Regions from separate parts of the Homo sapiens genome. Here region 1 is linked to region 2. The links are contacts of gene promoters, found by promoter capture Hi-C in human tissues and cell types (Jung and others, 2019). All regions are on one chromosome and are shown on one strand. Each heading gives the region's core, a stretch centred on a gene start or on the middle of the fragment in contact. The rest is flanking DNA. Distances are from core to core; before and after follow the strand shown. Region 1 has its middle 14 kb from the start of ADH1C. Region 2 holds the start of ADH1B (alcohol dehydrogenase 1B (class I), beta polypeptide).

Region 1 (6,381 bases), core at 3,620-6,119, 47 kb after region 2:
GTGCATAATTATTATTGATTATAGTCCCCCTGTTATGCTGTCAAATACTAGGTCTTATTTATTCTAACTATTTTTTTGTACCCATTAACCATCCTCACTTTCCTCCATCCCTCTCACTACCCTTGCTGGCCTCTGGTAACCATCCTTCTATTCTCTCTCTCCGTAAGTTCAATTGTTTTGATTTTCAGATCCCAAAAATAAGTGAGAACATGTGATGTTTGTCTTTCTCTGCCTGGTTTATTTATTTAACATAATGACTTCTAGTTCCATCCATGTTGTTGCAAGTGACAGGATCTCATTCTTTTTCGTGGATGAATAGTACTCCATTGTGTATACGAAGCACATTTTCTTCATCCATTCATCTGTTGATAGATACTTGGGTTGCTTCCAAATTTTCGCTCTTGTGAACAGTGCTGCAATAAACATGGGAGTGCAGATATCTCCTTAATATACTGATTTCCTTCCTTGGGTTATATACCCAGCAGTGGGAGTGCAGGATAACATGGTAGCTATATTTTTAATTTTTTTGAGGAACCTCCAAAATGTTCTCCATAGTGGTCGTACTGGCTTCCATTCCTACCAACAGTGTATGAGGTTTCCCTTTTCTCTACATCCTCGCCAGCATTTGTTATTGCCTGACTTTTGCATAAAAGACATTTTAGGCTGGGTGCAGTGGCTCACGCCTCTAACCCTAGAATTTTGGGAAGCCAAGGCAGGTGGACCATGAGGTCAGGAGATTGAGACCATCCTGGCCAACATGGTGAAACCCCGTCTCTACTAAAATATAAAAAGTTAGCTGGGCATGGTGGTGCATGCCTGTAGTCCCAGCTACTTCAGAGGCTGAGGTAGAGGAATCACTTGAACCCAAGAGGCGGAAGTTTCAGTGAGCAGAGATCGTGCCACTGCATTCTGGCCTGGTGATGGAGCAAGACTCCATCTCAGAAAAAAAAAAAAGCCTATTTAATGGGGATAGGATGATATCTCATTGTAGCTTTGATTTGCCTTTCTCTGATGATCAATGATCGTCATCATATGCATGTTTGCCATTTGTTTGTCTTTTTGTGAGAAATAGCTATTCAAAACTTTAGCCCATTTTAAAATTGAATTATTAGATTTCTTTCCTAGAATTGTTTGAGCTCTTTATATATTCTGGTTATTAATTATTTGTCAAATGGGTTTTTCTTCAAATATTTTCTCCCATTCTGTGAGTTGTCTCTTCACTTTGTTCATTGTTTCCTTTGCTATGCTGAAGTTTTTTTTTTAACATGATGTGACCCCATTTGTCCATTTTTGTTTTGGTTGCCTGTGCTTATAGGGTATTATTCAAGAAGTTTTTGCCCAGACCAACGTCCTGGAGAGCTTCCCCAATGTTTTCTTGTAGTAGTTTCATACTTTAGGGTCTTAGATTTTAAGCCTTTAATCCATTTTGATTTGACTTTTGTATATGGTGAGAGATAGGGGTCAAGTTTCATTCTTCTGAATATGAATATTCAATTCTCCCAGCACCATTTATTGAAAAGACTTTTTTTCCTCAATGTATGTTCTTGGTGCCTTTGTTGAAAACGAGTTTACTGTAGGTATGAAGATTTTTTTCTGGGTTTTCCATGCTGTTTTATTGGTCTATGTGTCTGTTTTTATGGTAGTATCATGCTGTTTTTGTTACTATAGCTTTGTAGTATATTTTGAAATCAGATCATGTGATTCCTACAGCTTTATTCCTTTTTCTCAGGACAGTTTTGGCTATTCTGAATATTTTGTGATTCCATATAAATTTTAGGATTCTTTTTCTATTTCTGTGAAGAAAGTCATTGGTATTTTGACAGGGATTGCATTGACTCTGTAGATTGCTTTGTGTAGCATGGACATTTTAATAATGTTGATTCTTCCAATCCGTGAACATGGAATATCTTTCCATTTTTTGTGTCCTCTTCAATTTTTTTAATCAATATTTTATAGTTTTCATTGTGAAGATTTTTCACTTCTCTGGTTGATACCTAGGTATTTAATTTTATTTGTGGTGGCTATAAATGGAATTACTTTTTTGATTTCCTTTTCAGATTGCTCACTGTTGATATTTAGAAATGCTACTGATTTTTGTACATTGATTTTGTGTCCTAAAAGTTTACTGAATTTGTTTATCAGTTTGAGTAGTTTTTTGGGGGAGTCTTTTGGTTTTCCCAAATATAAGATTATATCATCTGCCAATAGGAAAATTTGACTTCTTTTTCAATTTGGATTCTCCTTATTTCTTTCTCTTGCCTGATTGCTCTTGCTAAGAATTCCAGTATTATGTTGGATAACAGTGGTGAAAGTGGGCATCCTTGTCGTGTTCCAGATTTAAGAGGAAAATCTTTCAGTTTTTCCCCATAAAGTATAACACTAGCTGGGGGTCTGTCATATATGGCTTTTATTATGTTGAGGTATGCTCCTTTTATACCCAGTTTTCTGAGGTTTTTTTCTTAATCCTGAAAGATGTAGATCTTTATCAAAAGAGTTTTCAGCATCCATTGAAATATATGGTTTTTGTCCTTCATTCTGTTGATATGAAGTATCACATTGACTGATTTGCATATGTTGAACCATTCTTGCATTCCTGGAGTAAATCCCACTTGGTCATGATGAATGATCTTTATAATATATTGTTGAATTTCACTTGCTAGTATTTTGTTGACAATTTTTGCATCAATATTCATCACAGATGTTAGCTTGTAGTTTTTATTTATTTATTTTAACATGCCTTTGTCTTGTTTTGGTATTAGAGTAATACTAGCCTCATTGAATCAGTTTGGAAGTATTTCCTCCTCCTCTGTTTTTTGGAACAGTTTGAGTAGGATTAGTATTAGTTCTTTAAATGTTTGGTAGAGTTTAGCAGTGAAGCCGTTGGGTCCCAGGCTCTTCTTTACTGGGAGATCTTTTATTATGTCTTCAATCTCATTACTTTTTATTGACCTGTTCAGGTTTTGGATTTCCTCTTGGTTCAATTTTGGCATGTTTTATGTTCCTAGAAATTTATCCATTTCTTCTATATTTTCCAGTATATCAACATATGGTACCTAATAATGATCATTTGAATTTCTGTTGTATCAGTTGTAATGTGTTGGGAACAAGCCCCCAAATCTGGCCATAAACTGGTCCCCAAACTGGCCATAAACAAAATCTTTGCAGCACTGTGACATGTTCGTGATGGCCATGACACCCACGCTGAAGGTTGTGGGTTTACTAGAATAAGAGCAAGGAACACCTGGCCCACCCAGGGCAGAAAACTGCTTAAAGGTATTCCTAAACCACACACAATAGCACGAGTGATCTGTGCCTTAAGGACATGTTTCTGCTGCAGATAACTAGCCAGAGCCCATCCCTTTGTTTCAGCCCATCCCTTTGTTTCCTGTAAGGAATACTTTTAGTTAATCTATAATCTATAGAAATAATGCTTATCACTGGCTTGCTGTCAATAAATATGTTGGTCAAACTCTGTTCAGGGCTCTCGGGTCTGAAGGCTGTGAGTCCCCTGATTTCCCACTCCACACCTCTATATTTCTGTGTGTGTGTCTTTAATTCCCCTAGCACCACTGGGTTAGCTCCATGACCGAGCTGGTCTTGGCAAGCGGTGCCCAATGTGGGGGCTCGAACCTAGGTCGAATGGTCACTGGAGCAATGGTTGGAGAATGTGGAACTAAACTGGAGGACACCTGAGTACTCTTAAGCAGTCCCCATGGTGAGTAAGAAGGGGAGCTCGGAAGCATCAGGGTAACAATGGGACAAGTGTGGGCTCTGGTTCTTTCCACCTTGGAACCTTTTCACACTGATGATGAGGAGGAAGGAAAGTATAACAAAGTAACAGAAGAGGTGACAGAGCAGGTTTGTTTGCCAGCTAAAGCTAAAGTGGCAAAGGAGGAAGAGGTTCATCCCTACCCTTCGGCACCCCCCCATTATTTTGAAGAAAAAGAGTGGCCTGACCCTCCAGATCTTTCTTTTCTGGAGGACACTGGGTGAAAAGTATTTGCCCCAGTGACTGAGCAGTACCTCAAGTGACTGCTCTCAGTTCTATTCTGGCAGGAATCCAGTAAGCTATATGAGAAGGTGATATACAGGCTTGGCAGTTCCCTGTTAGCATACACCCCCCAGATCAACAGGGAAATATTATAGCTACATTTGAGCCTTTTCCTTTTAAATTTGGGAAATGCCATGAGGGGCCAGTCCTGGGCCCCGTTCCAAACCAGAGCATTTCCAGCTCAGGCCCTTCCCTCACCCCTGTACAATTCCTGTCCCCTGCCACAGCCGGTAGTGCCGCAGTAGATTTATGCTGCACAAAAGTTGTGAGCCTTCTGCCTGTGACCCCCACAAAAAGTTCCAACACGGGTCTGTGGACCCTTGCCAATGGGGATGATAGGATTACTTCTAGGTAGATCTAGTTTAAATTTAAAAGGAGTGCAAGTACATATCAGAGTCATTGATTCAGATTACAATAGGGAAATTGAAATTTTTATATCTACTTCTGTTCCCTGGAAAGCAGAGCCAGGAGAGTGTATAGCACAGCTCCTGATTGTGCCATATGTGGAAATGGGGAAAAGTGAAATTAAATGAACAGGAGGATTTGGAAGCACAAATAAACAAGGCAAAGCAGCTTTGGGTGAATCAAATTACTGATAAACACCCTACCTGTAAAATAACTATTCAGGGAAAGAAATGTAAAGGTTTGGTAGATACAGGAGCAGACATTTCAATCATTTCTCTACAGCACTGGCTGTCCATGTGGCCAATTCAACCCCCTCAATTTAACATAGTTGGAGTTGGTAAAGTCCCTGAAGTATATCAAAGTAGTTATATTTTGCATTGTGAAGGGCCCGATGGAAAACCTGGGACTATTCAACCAATTATGACTTCTGTACCTATAAATCTATGGGGAAAGGATTTATTACAAAAATGGGGAGCACAAGTTCTAATTCCAGAACAATTATATAGCCCTCAAAGTCAACATATGATGCATGCAATGGGGTATGTCCCTGGTATGGGACTAGGAAAAAATTTGCAAGGTTTGAAGGAAGCCCTTCAAGTGGGAAGACAAACTTCTTGCCAAGATTTAGGATATCATTTTTGATGGCAGCCATTGTTAAGCCTCCAGAACCTATACCTTTAAAAGGGTTAACAGATAAGCCAATTATCTGATAAAACAATGGTCGCTGAATAAAGAGAAACTGGAGGCTTTAGAGGACTTAGTTACTGAACAAGTAGAAAAAGGACACATAGCTCCAACATTTTCCCCTTGGAAATCTCCAGTTTTTGTAATTAAGAAAAAATCAGGTAAATGGAAAATGTTAACTGACTTAAGAGCCATTAATTCAGTTATACAACCTATGGGGACATTGCATCCAGGACTGCCTTCTTTTGCTATGATTCTGAAAAATTGGCCTTTAATAGTCATAGATTTAAAAGACTCTTTACTATCCCCTTAGCTGGGCAAGACTGTGAATGGTTTGCATTTACAATTCCTGCAGTAAACAACCTGCAGCCTGCTAAGCATTTTCACTGGAAAGTGTTGCCACAAGGCATGTTAAACAGTCCAACAATTTGCCAGACTTATGTAGGGCAAGCAATTGAACCTACTAGTAAAAAATTTTCACAGTGTTACATTATTCATTATATGGATGATATACTTTGTGCTGCCATCACTTGAGAAATATTAATCCAATGTTATGATCTCTTGCAAAACTTAATTTCTCATGCTGGTTTAATTATAGCTCCTGACAGAATTCAGACTACTACTCCTTACTTCTTTCTTGGGGACCTTAGTAAATGATACCACCATTGTGCCACAGAAAGTAACCATATGTAGGGATCAATTGAAAACATTAAATGACTTTCAAAAATTACTAGGAGAAATTAATTGGACATGACCTGCCCTAGGCATTCCTACCTGAGTAATCTATTTTCTATCCTTAGAGGAGATCCTAGTCTCACTAGCCCTCAGCAGTTAACAAAAGAAGCTGAGGCAGAGCTGCAAGTCATCAAAAAGCAAGTCCATAAAGCTCAAATCAATAGAATAGATCCAGAGAAGACTCTAGATTTGCAAATTTTTTCAACTCAGCATTCACCTACTGATGTTATTGTTCAAGAGCAAGATCTTGTACAGTGTCTTTCTCTTCCACATACTAATTCAGGGACTTTGACTCCTTATTTGGATCAAATTGCTACTATGATAGGAAATGGGTGAACTCAGATTGTTAAATTACATGGATATGATCCTGGAAAAAATATTGTCCCTCTCATGAAGGCACAAATACAGCAAGCCTTTATAAATAGTCTTACTTGGCAAACCCATTTAGCTGACTTTGTGGGTATTCTCAATAATCATTTTCCTAAAATGAAACTGTTTCAATTTTT
Region 2 (6,026 bases), core at 1,786-4,285:
CTACCTTCCCTTCTTGAATTAAACAATTTAGAATAATCTGTGAAATAATTGATTCTGAAATATTTAAGTCTTATGTAAGAATGCACGCTTTAAAAAATAGAAGTAGAAATAGCAAAGTAACACATGGAAAATATCTAATATTAATTGATTTTGAAGTCTTGATATATATCCTTTGGAATTTTTTTCTGTACAAACATAAATTCTTTTGTATTTTACTGGAATTATACTGTATGTACTCTTTGATCATTTTTTAAAAATTTAAAATTTATATTTATACCTTTCCTTGACAACAAATGTAATTTTATCTTCTGGGTGATCATATAAGATATGCCTCTTAGTGGATTTTTGGATGTTTCCATTTTTAATGTTCTCTGAGTTTTTTAAATGTAAAATGAAATATAAATGGAAAAATATTTCACCTTAATGCGAACTTCATAAGCCTTAGGAGGTGCAACCTCCACATCCTCAATGGAAAAGGGTTTCTTTACCTCCCATAGCACAGCTGCTTTGCATTTGATTACCTAGAAAATCAAACAGAGAGATGGTGACAGTGTTTTCCCACTCTTGAAGTCATAAGTTGTGTCTTTTCATCTTTGTACATGTAATATTGCGTCCCATGTCTGGTACCTAACAAGTGCTCCATGGAAATGAAGTACTCTGGTTTATAAAGAGAATAAAAGTATCTTTTAAAAAGCAATAACATAAGGAAAGATAAACAAAGTATAATAAGACATTGAGAAAAATGGAATATATTTATTTAGGCCATTCTTATGTTGTTGTTTTTTCTCTGAAGGTGTTTATTCCTGGTATTTCCTAATGCCGTCCTGAAAATGCTCGTCTACCCACAACTATTAGCTGATATATGAAGTTAGAAGTCACCTTTATTTTGCTGACAGAGTCAGTGTCTGTCTACATAAAATACACTGCTTTATTGCTCAATTTTCTGCTTAGGCCAAAAGGATCTGACTCTATAAGAGCAATTATACATTTACCTTCCTGCGCACAATGACATTTCTTTCTCTCCCTATTTGCTTATTGTCCTCTTTTAATTTTCTCTCTCCACTACTTCTGTGTGCTACTTGTTTCCTACTCATTTGAAACTTAGCTTTGGCAGCCTGTTTTGTAATCTAATTTATGTGTAGAGACTTCTTTCAGCTTAGATTTGAGCCAAATATTATAGAGATTAGAGTTGGTGGTGTGTGTGTGTGCACGTGTGTGTGTGTGTATACACTCAGACCCACGCATGTATATTTTAAAACTGGAGAAACAGTGTGCTTGGATTTCTGTTTAGCAGAGCTTATCCATAGATGTTCTTAAAAATAAAGTTCAGCATATATTTCTAGTGCTTGGCAGTGTACTGTAAAACCCATCTTCGTTGTGGTAAAGCATGTATAATTCGCAGAGCCCTTTCTAGAAAGAACCAACATAATTGCAAATATAATTTAAAAATTCAATTGAGATTTATTTTTCTGCCAATTCATTTTCATTATTTATTTGTCAAAATTTTCAACTTTGTAGGATGTTCAACATGGTCAATGCCAAAATAAATACCAGAATACTTAGACAGAAGGTACTAATAGTAGGAAGATTCTTATTATGAGGTGCTTATGATGTGACAGGCACATTGTGACCTGTGCTGGGTAAATTACATGCATTATTTTTATCTTAAAATTTATTCATTGATTAATTTTTAATTTCAATAGTTTTTGGGGTGCAGATGGTTTTTGGTTACACGGATAAGTTCTTTAGTGGTGATTTCTGATATTTTGGTGCACCCCTCACACAAGCAGTGTAGACTGAACCCAATATGTAGTCTTTTATGTCTTATTCCTCCTACTGCCCTTTTCCCTCAGTCCCCAAAGTCCATTATATCATTCTCATCCTTTGTGTCCTCATAGTTTAGCTACCACTTTTAAGTGAGAACATTGGATATTTGGTGTTCCATTCATGAGTTACTTTACTTAGAATAACGTCCTCTAGCTCCATCAACCAGTCTTATTGATATGAGCCTGTTTGTCACACAATGCAGAGAGAAGCCTCAGAACCTTTAAATTGAATTATCATAGTGAGATATTTTACAGTGTGGTACACTCCTAACACAAAAAAAGGACTGGACATAGTTGCACAGGTTTATGTAATTAAACAATTAAAAAAATCAATTGATTATATTGAATGACCACATGCACCTGTAAACACATTGAGCAAATAAGTACAAATTTATAGAAGAAAAAACCAAATATCTGTATTCCTAGTGCTAAGTGATTCAAATTGTATTATTATTCAAATTGTATCATTGATTTTCTGTAAAACCATATTAACTTTTAAATGGGGAAGATACTGTTCCATAGGATTTTTGTGGAAATTCCCTGAATTGTATCATAATGGACCCCTTTTAATCAGAATTTGCATGTTGATGTCTTGCTTAACCTTGATGATTCTAATGCTGTGAAATCAATGAGTATTTTGTAAGATATTTTATAGTAAGGTTAAAGGATATTTCAGTCTTCTGAGTCAAATTCCTCTCATCAAACTTCTGTCAGACAACTTTCCTGTGTTCATAAAAAATTTGAATAAAAATAATAACACATTTGAATTATGGTTTCTTATTATAAAGATAACTTGCCATTAAAGACTTTTCTAACTTTAGATTTACAAATCAGTCATGATTAGCTTGGAATAAACTATCATTTTACTGTAAATTTATTTAATGTAGGAAATAAAGACTAATAGACACAGGTTCTATACATTCCTGTTAAAGGTACTTAAGAATAGCTTATTTCCACTGCAGTTCAGTATACATTACATATTGAGGTGTATATTGCATATCATATTTCAGCATATCATTTCTAATTTAGATATGAATTTTAAATTATTCATCAAATACTGTATTCCTTTCTTTGTTATATTGATGAGAATATATTACCAACAGTAATATATTTTTTGCTTACTTTTCCTGCTGTGCTCATGTCGTTTCTGTCTTCTCTGCCCACCAGCAGACTGTGAGTCTTTGTGGATTTCTTCTCTGCTTGAGTGCATAAAGCAGATATATTGCACAGATATTTATTTTGTTTGCTTGTGTAACATCCAATTCCAATTCCACACGTGATCTATGTCTTTAAGCCACACCCACTGGATTATTCCCAGACTGTCAAAACAGATAAAAGGGTACTGAACCAGCAATCAAAATATTGACTTCCAAATTCTAGATAAGATTTTGTTTTCATTAGTTTAAATATTAAGTTAAAGTGATAAATTGTAATCACTTTCTCTTTTCCTCACTTCCCACCCCCCCCCGGCCTCTGGAATTCCTTGTTTCTCTTCTTTCAATCCCACATAGGTCGTTCTGCCTTGTATTCCCTTTGTCTGCACTAAGCTGCAACTTTGAATGCACATGGGGTGGCGAGGAAGGAAGAAGAGTAAGAAAACAGGAAAAACGAAGTAGGATAGAGAGAGCAGCCTCTTTGTCTTTACAGCAGAGAATCAGACACCCAATTAGTCACAGCAAAGGGGATCACTGTGCCTGGCAATTCTGCTCCACTCAAAACTAGTATGTATGGACTGAACACCTCCCTGTGTCAGGCACTAAGCTGGGTCCAGTGGAGTAGCAGTGATGAATAAGACATGACCTCTGCCTGTGCCAAGAGGCAGTATGGGGCAGCGGTGATGGCATGGCTTGTGGGACCAGGCCAACCCAGTTCCTTACTTGTTCTGTGTACTTGGACTTATTATTTCACTGAATTTTTTTTGCCTTAATTTCCTTATCTGTGAGATGAAGATGAATAATGGCGTCATTTTAAAGGACTGTTTGTGAATAAATGAAATAATCCTTGTAAAGCACTCATCATGGAGTTTTGCAGATAGGAGCACCCTCCTAAATGTTAGCTACAATTATTATTCATGAAAGAAAGCTCACAGTTTATAGTGAAAAGACACGCAGGAAACCAAGTCTACATATCAGCCTGGCTGGGAAGTGCCCTATCACAGGGGTCAGTTAATGCTTTGGGAACAGAGACAGAGTTGCTATTCAGAATGAAGGACTCAGGGGAGGCATTGTAGAGGAACAGGCATTTGTGGCAGATTTTAAATAATTGTGAGAAATGGAGCAAAATCCTCACTGGATCATTTCCATTACCCTTTGATCAATGTAGCTAGTATCCTCATGGCTTTCCAAGCATAGGAGTTTGATTTTTCTTTTATCCACACTTGGAGGCGTCATAAAACTATACAGGCAACTATTTAATTAGATATAGTCTGTCAATATGAACATGTTAGCATAGAGGACATATTTCTCTAAAATTGCCAAGGGAACATTTCAGTAAGCTTTAATTATGTAGGCACTGAGACTCACACCAAGACTGAGAAACATTCACCCAATAGAAAGCAAAGGAGGTCCTATGATTTTAGTTGCTTCTAGTTTGGAAAGGTATGACGGAAAGAAGATAGCCCCAGATAACCTGGCTTTAGCCTTCTCATCCAACTATTCCTCACCATTCTCCAATACAGGGCCTATGCTCTTTAGAAGCATGTATCTCTGTGGTCCTCCAAAGAGGAATCCATTCCTCATTCAAGCTCTTGCTCATCATGCTTTTTCTCTTCTTTTCTGTCCCTCTGGCCCATTCAAATCCTCCCCAAACTTTGAGATCTAGGACAAGGTCGCCCTTGTGGAGATATGTTAACGCCATCTCACAGTCATGCTTCACTTCTTTCCATCCCTGTCATACTAGCATCCCTCCTGTGGTTTTAGGGCCCATTCTCTTTTGTGGCCTTTATATTTAGTGTAGAGATCAGTCTCCTAAGTTCTACTGGAAATTTCTGGTCAGAGATGTTCTTGAATTTCATTTAAATCTTCAACTGTACCTAGTTTCATGTGTACAATAGGTGTTTAATGAAAGATTGTTGAATTCTTGTGCTCCTTTATGTTAGGACACGCACTGTTCTATGAGCAGTCCCATAATCCAGAAGATCTGGTGTCTCCTCTTTAAGGGATTACAGATTAGCAGTGGGATTGGCTGTGGTCAGGTAGAGAAGACAGAGAACCCTCCTGTGAAGCAGGAAGTGGTGAGTGCCAGGAGAAAGTTCAACGTGGAATCAAAAGAGGAAGACCCTACTCCGTCTTTTCATTGTGAATTCTCAGCTCTTAACTCAATGAGTGGCACAGGGTGAGTGCTCAGATATTTGTTGACTAAATTAAATGAATGACATCTAATTTGAGAATGAGGAAGCCTTGAAAGAAAGATATTTTATTAAGATTTATTAAGAAAGATGAGTTGCAGTTGAGAGGTATAGATGCAGTCAGCATATGGACAAAGAATCTTGAAAACATTTTTCTCCCCTAATACCCCCTTTTATACATTTTTCTGTTTAATCCTCTCTCACACCTGTAGACATAGCATTTCAGGGAATTATAGCCACTACCACCTTGTTTTCAAGGCCCTAATGAATTTGGAAATGTGATATCCACTTATGAGCTTGCATCACTTTGTGAACACATGGCTCCATGAACTGCCAAAAGAACTTTGGCACAAACTTCATAGAGTCAAGAGATCTTTCTTAATACCATCTGGCAACTACTCTGTGCTTACTCTTTGCCCCACCTTCTAAAAGTTTAAATGGAGGGGAAGAGCAGTTGTCACATGATTGAGTGTCAGTGTTCTAGTATCAGAGGGCCATGGCAGGCCTGTAGCAACATCTGGAATGTCCAAAGGTAACCCTGTCACTCTCTAGGGGTCACAGGGCATCACTTTCCTCTGTTTCTCTCTCTGTGTGTGTCTCTGTAAGCCAGCCCGATTCTATATTACATTTCCACCAACTACTATATTATAAATGCAGCTTATCCAGAGAGATGATATGCTTGCTTCAGTTTGGGTCAGCGATCCCCGGTGTGCTAGGCAGAATAATGGCCCTCAAAGAGGTCCACTCCTAATCCCTGGAATCTAGGAATATATTGCTTTACATGGAAAAAAACGAATTTTGTAGGTGTGATTCCGTTAAAGGTCTTGAGATGGGAAGACTAGCTTGGATTATCC

The links. Contacts are between HindIII fragments. The study calls those that stand out against the background at their distance.
Region 1: a fragment that was not itself captured here is called in contact with the fragment with the promoter of ADH1B in region 2 in 2 of the 25 tissues and cell types used here (bladder and ovary).

What each region holds. Positions count from the first base shown.
Region 1 is chr4:99,363,960-99,370,340 of GRCh38, forward strand. No RefSeq gene overlaps it. Among named protein-coding and RNA genes, the nearest start is that of ADH1C, 14 kb to the left of the region's middle. The HindIII fragment of the contact is 8,873 bases long and covers 434-6,381 here.
Region 2 is chr4:99,318,366-99,324,391 of GRCh38, forward strand. ADH1B (alcohol dehydrogenase 1B (class I), beta polypeptide) reads right to left here and starts at 3,036. Exons shown (of 9, transcript NM_000668.6): 1 at 2,949-3,036; 2 at 420-521. The coding sequence starts at 2,966. RefSeq lists enhancers at 1-538, 3,202-3,308 and a promoter at 3,002-3,308. The HindIII fragment of the contact is 12,641 bases long and covers 1-6,026 here.